Regions from separate parts of the Homo sapiens genome. Here region 2 is linked to region 1. The links are contacts of gene promoters, found by promoter capture Hi-C in blood cells and fetal thymus (Javierre and others, 2016). All regions are on one chromosome and are shown on one strand. The core of a region is centred on a gene start or on the middle of the fragment in contact, and the rest is flanking DNA. Distances in the headings are between cores, read along the strand shown.

Region 1 (3,459 bases), core at 580-3,079:
GGCCAGGGAGGTCATTGGATAAAAGTTGGAGTCAAGGGTATGGTGGAGGGACTAACTCTGTGAGTTAGAGCTTTCAAAATGTGCTCCAATATTCCTTCTGAGCTCATTGGTCAATTGAAGTATTTTCACCTGCCCTTATTTCCTGGGGGGCTGGTGTAGGGGTAGGGGGACTCTGTGGTTGCTAAACATTGCAAATGAGCAACCAAGTAACAAAGGCCATGGAAAATCACGTAACTATGGACTTGGAAATATCTAGACAAAGTCCTGAAGCCTAATCACAGTGAGATTTGGGCCTCTCTTCTCTTCTGGCCTTTGGTTTTTCGGAGAATTTGATCTATCTTCCTCAGGGTGATATAGGCCCTTAGGAGTGTTTGGAATTTCTCCACCCAGGCTACTCAAGAGGCAGGTACTCTAAATGTCCTGTGGGTTTCCAACTGATGAGAAACCCAACTGGAGAGATTGCTGTGGGGAATCACGTAGGCTTCTAGACAATGAGCTCCCTGAGGACAGTGACTGGATTCTGCCTCTTTTCAACAGCCCTATAGACAAGGATGTAATAACCCCCATTGCCAACCCAAGACCTTGGCATTTCTGCCACATGATGCTGCTGTTCGCTACAGTGACTCATTTTTAAACTCCTAGTGCCTAGCAGAGTGCCTGGCACATTTGTTTGCTGAATGAGAGAATGAGTAGTGACATTTCATATCAAATGATGCATTATTATTTACAAAGTGATTTATTTCCCATGCATGAACTCATCCTCATAACTACCCCTACTTTACCCCGGAAGGTAGGCAAGACCATTTTACAGATGAGGTCACACAGCTGTAGGTTGGAGAGGTGGCTTTCAGACTCTAAATTCATTGGCATTTATATATAGGCATCATATTGAGACTGCCCTTTCTAAAGTACTCTGTCAAAGGACTAAGAGATATGAATAGGGATTCAGATGTTGACCTCAGATTTAGGAACAAAATGCAGAAATCACAAATGTCCATCTGAATGGTGTCTCAACAATGGCATTATTTTCTCCTATTTGCTAATCACTGCAAGGCATATAGGTTTTCAATTACATTATGAGTTACATAGAATAGAATTTAGGGTCCAGATGGGTAAACTGGTGAATCCCCATGAAGTTTGTAGTAGCTATTTCCTGATACAGATTTGATATAATAACACTGTTGTATGTAATACAGTTTTGGTAATTTCAGTTAAGTAGATTGTAGCTTTATTGCCCTGGGTCTTCAAGGAAACACATGTTCAAATATTCTCACTGCTTAATGAGATCCTTGTTCCTGTTGAACTTATGTGACCTTATTGGAAATCAATGATTGCTTTTGTTCTTCAAAATGTAATGTTGAGGAGACCTAGATGAAATCACTCTACAAAATGCATTGAGATTGCAGGATGTGGAGAATGTGCTGTAATTAAAATGAATGATTCTGCTTGGAGGTACAGCATATTTTAGCTCTGTGTGCATATCGTGCATAAGGGAATTTCTCTATGCAGAATTATTTTCTCCCAACAATTCTCATGATCACAGCACTCCTGGTAGCAGGTATCACTTAACTCCTGGGCAGCAGCTTGTCCAAAGCAAGGGAAAGGGAGCTTTCCTTTCCTCGCAACTGTTGCTATGGGGGGCGTGGCTTCGGAGCTGGGTGAGGAGGCGTTCGGCGGCTCCCTCCCCCCCCCACCCTCGTAGACTACACTTCCCGTGATGCTCGAGGGAATGGTCTCCGTGGTGACGCACTTGGTGTCCGCGGAGGGAGGACGAGGACGGGGGCGGCGGCTGCTGCGAGGGGGGGCCCGTGCTCTCCCCGTTTCCCTTAGTCGCACTCAGGCAGCCGCCGCCGCCGCCGCTGCCGCCATGTTGGTTTGAGAGGCGATGACAGGAGGCGGCCGCGGCGTGTGGGACTGAAAAGTGAAGGAGGAGGAGGAGAAACAAAGCTCTGAGAGGAAACCATTCCCGGGCTGAGGAGAAGGAGGACCCGGCCTCTTCCGGGGACCAGCCGAAGTCGGCGTCGCCCGGAGCTCGCGAGGCCGGGGAGGGGAGGGGAAGGGAAGGCGGAGACCGGGGAGGCGGCGGCGGGGAAGGCGGAGGCAGAAGAGGAGTGGCGAGGAGCCGGAGACGATGCGCCCCGACCCCAGCTGCTGTCCGGAGGCGCCCGCGGCCTGAGCCCAGAGGGGCTGTGGAGTGTCCCGGCCGGCCCCGAGCACCCCCGCGCTGTCGGTCCCCCGCTCCGGTCTTTCGCTTTGGCTTCCAACTAGTTAAATGCCCTTGAGCGCGGGTTTCCGCGGCCCGGCTCTTCGCCCCCGCGGCGCGAGTTGAGCCGTTTCCCCGCGCTGTCCGCGCGGGCGCTCCGACAGCGGCTCTGCAGGGTCCGCGGCCAGCGTCCGGCCACCGCTCGGCCGCCACTCAAGGCTCACGCGTCGATGTGTAGCTACATAGTTATCTGTGTACATCCACGCTGGGGCATTTTTCTCCTGCTTAATGAGGACTTGACTCGGGAGCAAGTGTGAATCATTGCCGGGGCTGGGAAAGGAGGAAGGCGCATTTAACCCCCTCCCACCCCTCTCCATGTCCGTGTGTCACTCGGCTCGGTCCACCTGGCGCGGCCGGTCCTGGGGCTGCTGCTGCTGTTGACGACGACGACGACGACGGGGGCTGCCTCTGCTGTCCCGGGAGTTTCCTCCTGCTCCGGCCACACAGCTCCTGGGGATTGTTCCTCTTCGAACCAGAACCTCGGCCTGACCGGCACTTTGGCTCCAAAATAACTTTATTTTTGGGGGAGAAAGCACATCACGAACCAGTCAAAATCGTGGTTTATTTCTGTAACGTGAAGACTTCTGCTCTTTTTTCTTTGTTTGTTTTTTTCGTAAACATCTGGGTGTATATCAAACGGCAAGATGTCCAGTAATGTCCCGGCGGATATGGTAAGTGACGGATAAGTTATGACACTGATTTAATTGTGGTTTCCAATCTTATTTAATCGGAAAGACGGCAGGCGTGGGGCGAAGATTTGCTGGGGACTGTCGAAAAGCCACTGTGCTGAGCGATTTGGAGAAGTTGGAGCTTCTGGTTTCCCCCTTTTAGGAAGTACTGCTTTTAATATGGGTTCTCTCATTTGGTCGTGTTTTCTAAAGCATTGAAGATAGTGGAGAAGTAGGGAAATGTATCATGGTAGCTTGAGGGGACAAAACATCTCCCTCTTCGCTAGAAGCCTCCGAACACTAGTATTTTAACGTTTCTGAAAACGTCAGGGACAGTGGGCAGAGCTGAGGACGGGTGTCCCTACGAGAGAATAGGTAGGGAAACGGGAATCTTGCTTTATGACACAGACGAGATCGTCATTGCAGTAGGGACGAACTTGATATTTTTCAAGAACAGGGATGCACATCTCTTCAAGAAAAAGTATGTTAGAATTTGCTGTGAGGTTTTTGAAATGTCTGAATACGGAT
Region 2 (3,792 bases), core at 313-2,812, 1.3 Mb before region 1:
CAGGTCAGATTTGAAAACAAAAACATCTCTTAAAATGCTTATGTTTAATAAGAAATTGGCACTTTATCAAACTTATGAATCTGCTTTCATTAGAAAATGGTTTCATGTTTTCTAATCCTTTGAATATGTAGGTTGGATTTAACTTTATTTCCTTGTTACATTGGAAGAGAGAGATAACTAAAAGGGGTGAAAAAGGAAAGGAGAAATAGGCACACTCAAAATATGTTCAAAAGGATAGTGGGACTTTAGTTGTAACAATCCTTTAAATGTGCCCATTGAGGATATTGATAGCCTAGACCTAAAATTCTGTTGCATCCTTGTGATTACTTGAGAAGAATCTGTTGAGACTCATATTTGGCCAGTATACTACTAGACATACTTCATCTCAGTTTTAGACACATAAGGAATTTTAAGACCTAAACTTGCTTGAATTCTATATTGTTTGAAAACTAGTACTGCCAAGCTAACTGTATTCTTCCCTTTATTCAAAAAATTAGGTAAGAGAAAAAGTAAATAATATACTGTTTTGGTATTTTTAAGCTAATAATTTCAGAAGTCTTAGTTTTCAATCTTACAGTTATTTCTTGTTTCAAATGAGGTACCCTTGAGTGAAATGTGCTCTGAAGTGGGGCTTTTCAATCTAGAGTTTACCTAAAATATTTGACCAAAACGGTGGATTAAAAAAACACCATCTTTTACAACAGTTTAACAAACGTGCGCCAGTTGTGTAAGATAGCAGTTCAATTTCTTGTTTTTAAAAACCATGGCTCTCAAGTCTTCAGAATACGCACATGCAGTTGAAAACATTAGGTCACTTAGAAACTTGTTGAATTACTCTTCTGCCTTCTACTTTTTGGTGTAGATAACTAGCATTTCATGCTATTGCTAGGAAAGGTAGCGATCCATGCATTTTCTGGCACAGAGTGTTTATCCTGGCCGCTTAGCAATTTATTAGACTATAAAAATTAACTTTAATTTTTTTTTTTTTTGAGAATGAGTTTCACCCTTGTTACCCAAGCTAGAGTGCAATGGCACTATCTTGGCTCACTGCAACTTCTGCCTCCCAGGTTCCAGCGATTCTCCTGCCTCAGCCTCTCAATTAGCTGGGATTACAGGCATGTGCTGCCATGCCCAGCTATAAAAATTAACTTTTTTTTTTGTTTTGAGACGGAATCTCGCTCTGTCGCCCAGGCTGGAGTGCAGTGACACGATCTTGGCTCACTGCAAGCTCCGCCTCCTGGGTTCATGCCATTCTCCTGCCTCAGCCTCCCGAGTAGCTGGGACTGCAGGTGCCCGCAACCACGCCCGGCTAATTTTTTGTATTTTTAGTAGAGACGGGGTTTCACCGTGTTAGCCAGGATGGTCTCCATCTCCTGACCTCGTGATCCACCCGCCTTGGCCTCCCAAAGTGCTGGGATTACAGGCGTGAGCCACCGCGCCTGGCCAAAAATTAACTTTTTTAAACAAAATTATAATTTGGCTATAGTGCTACTAGATCTATTCATTCATTGGGTATAAAACCTCACAAGTTTAGCAGGGAAAAAAAGGAATGAAACAGTGATAAAATTCTAGTGTGTTTGTTCAGAGCTTTAGTGATAGTTTTCACTGTCTTTGAGTTTATCTTGCAGATTTTGAAATCTTTAAAGTCTGTCGTCACACTATTTTGCCTCTTGTTCCCTCTTGCTGCTTACTTTCTGGCATTTTCTATAGGAGAAGGAAAAAGTATAAATAAAATCTGTTCATAGATGGGAAATTCAGTGAAATTGGTGGGCCTCAGGGCAACTTATGTGCACTCATAGGATTGGTTTGAGTTGTAAAGTGAATAAATAAAATTACTAAAATTACTGGTAGGTGGTGAAATTAAAGAAAAAAATTAAAATCTCAAACTTCTTTTTGCAGCAAATCACTCATGCAAACAATACGGTGTCTAACTTCAAAAGATTTCATGGCCGAGCATTCAATGACCCCTTCATTCAAAAGGAGAAGGAAAACTTGAGTTACGATTTGGTTCCATTGAAAAATGGTGGAGTTGGAATAAAGGTAATATAATTGAGCAACCTTAGAAAAATACCAACTTATTAATACTTAAAAATACGAACTTATTTGAGTTATTACTTAAATTTCTTAATTACACCAGGTGGTCTTTTTGTTCTTTTTTTATTCAGCTCCTTTTAAAGTATAGTAGATAGACGCTAAATTGTCTTTGAATATTATTCAAATGGTAATATATATGCTATAACTTAATTTGTGTTTCTTCTGACTTTTTGGCAATTGTAAAATTTAGGTTTATTTGATGTTGGAAAAAAAATCGACATTGTGTTCATGTATCAAACAAAAGTCTGTTCTGAGACAGCCCAGTTGCAGTTGTTTGGAGAGCAATAGTGTAGTAACACCAGGAATCTTTTTTTAAACTTGCAGAGGTATTCCTGTCTTGTGATCAACACACAATAATATTTATCCTAGTGATTCATCTCTTCAGTTAGAGTGGAAATTTACTACCTTCTTTAATGTTTTGACTTAGATTTTGGGTGGGGTATATCTGCCCTAGCTTTCTTCCGCTCCTCTTCATCTTTAGGTAGAAGTTCTTTCTTCCTTTTTCTTTTTTTCTCTTTTCCTTTCTCTCCCCCTTCCCTCCTTCCCCTTCCCTTTTTCCTCCTTTTCTTCCTTCTTCCCAAAACAACTACAACAATAAAATAAAGATTTTGTGGAAGGGAATGTGTGCTAATTTTTGGAAGTTAAATATTGGCATGTAGCTTAAAGTACTACAATGTTTAAAACATTTTTTCCCTTCAATATAGGTAATGTACATGGGTGAAGAACATCTATTTAGTGTGGAGCAGATAACAGCCATGTTGTTGACTAAGCTGAAGGAAACTGCTGAAAACAGCCTCAAGAAACCAGTAACAGATTGTGTTATTTCAGTAAGTATAATTCAGCAAGGCAGTGTGTTTTATTTCATTTTTGCGTTCTTTGTATTACTTTTAAGTATGAAATGTGGGAAAGCTGTTCTTTAGTTACTAGAGACCGTGTTCTACTGGACTGTATTAACATGTGTTCCAGAGCATTACAAAGTAGATTTGAGTGATATTTTTAGCCAGAAGCGGCAAAGGTTCTTGACTGGAAATCAAAATCTCTTGTGAGACTTTTTGAAAATACAGATTTTGACTGGTTCCATTTGTGAGTATTCTAATACAGTTAGTTGCTGCACTATCAGGCTTGTACATTTAACACAGGAGCTTTTCACAGGTGAAAGAATTCTACCCTCCGTTGAGAAACCAGTGTATTAGGAGTTTTAAAACGTAGCTTACCAGTAGTGACAAAACCTAAATTTTTAACACTAGCAAGCCTGTTACCTTCAGTGGACAATTACTAGTTAGACTATCAAAGGGTACTTGAAATGGACAAAAGTCATCTTTTATTTGGACACCAAAAAGGTAAATTCTGCTCACCCAGGTGTCTTGGGTCACTTCTTGATAGGTTGTGGGGTATGCTTTTGGACTTAAATACAGCATGGTCTTTGCTCTATAGTATGAGCAACGTGGCCGGCTGAGATCAGTCAGCAACAAGCCTTTATGAATGAATGAGGCAGAAGAACTAACATTTCTCCTGCTGTCCTTGCAAGATGGGAAGTGTTTTAATCTCTGGCAAAATTAAAGAATTAAGTTATAAGTCAGTGGCTTCTCCCTCCCCACTCTCTCCCTTCCTTTTTTTTTTTTTTGCCACATTTTTTTTCCCCTGGTGAGCTGAGAAACTGATGGACGAAGTGTTCTGATTTGAAAGGTGAGCAGAGAT

Evidence for each region. The method cuts DNA at HindIII sites, captures the fragments that hold promoters and counts their contacts. A CHiCAGO score of 5 or more calls a contact.
Region 2: a contact is called between a fragment that was not itself captured here and the fragment with the promoter of UBL3 in region 1, in 1 of 17 cell types (neutrophils). The highest score is 5.6, in neutrophils.

The regions. Positions count from the first base shown.
Region 1 is chr13:29,848,987-29,852,445 of GRCh38, reverse strand. It overlaps UBL3 (ubiquitin like 3), which reads left to right and starts at 1,829. Exons shown (of 5, transcript NM_007106.4): 1 at 1,829-2,934. The coding sequence starts at 2,908. RefSeq lists silencers at 1,674-1,783, 2,054-2,353 and enhancers at 1,914-1,983, 2,654-2,723, 3,194-3,263. The HindIII fragment of the contact is 5,102 bases long and covers 1-3,459 here.
Region 2 is chr13:31,153,762-31,157,553 of GRCh38, reverse strand. It overlaps HSPH1 (heat shock protein family H (Hsp110) member 1), which reads left to right. Exons shown (of 18, transcript NM_006644.4): 3 at 1,900-2,040; 4 at 2,799-2,921. Among named protein-coding and RNA genes, the nearest start is that of HSPH1, 6.2 kb to the left of the region's middle. The HindIII fragment of the contact is 8,334 bases long and covers 1-3,792 here.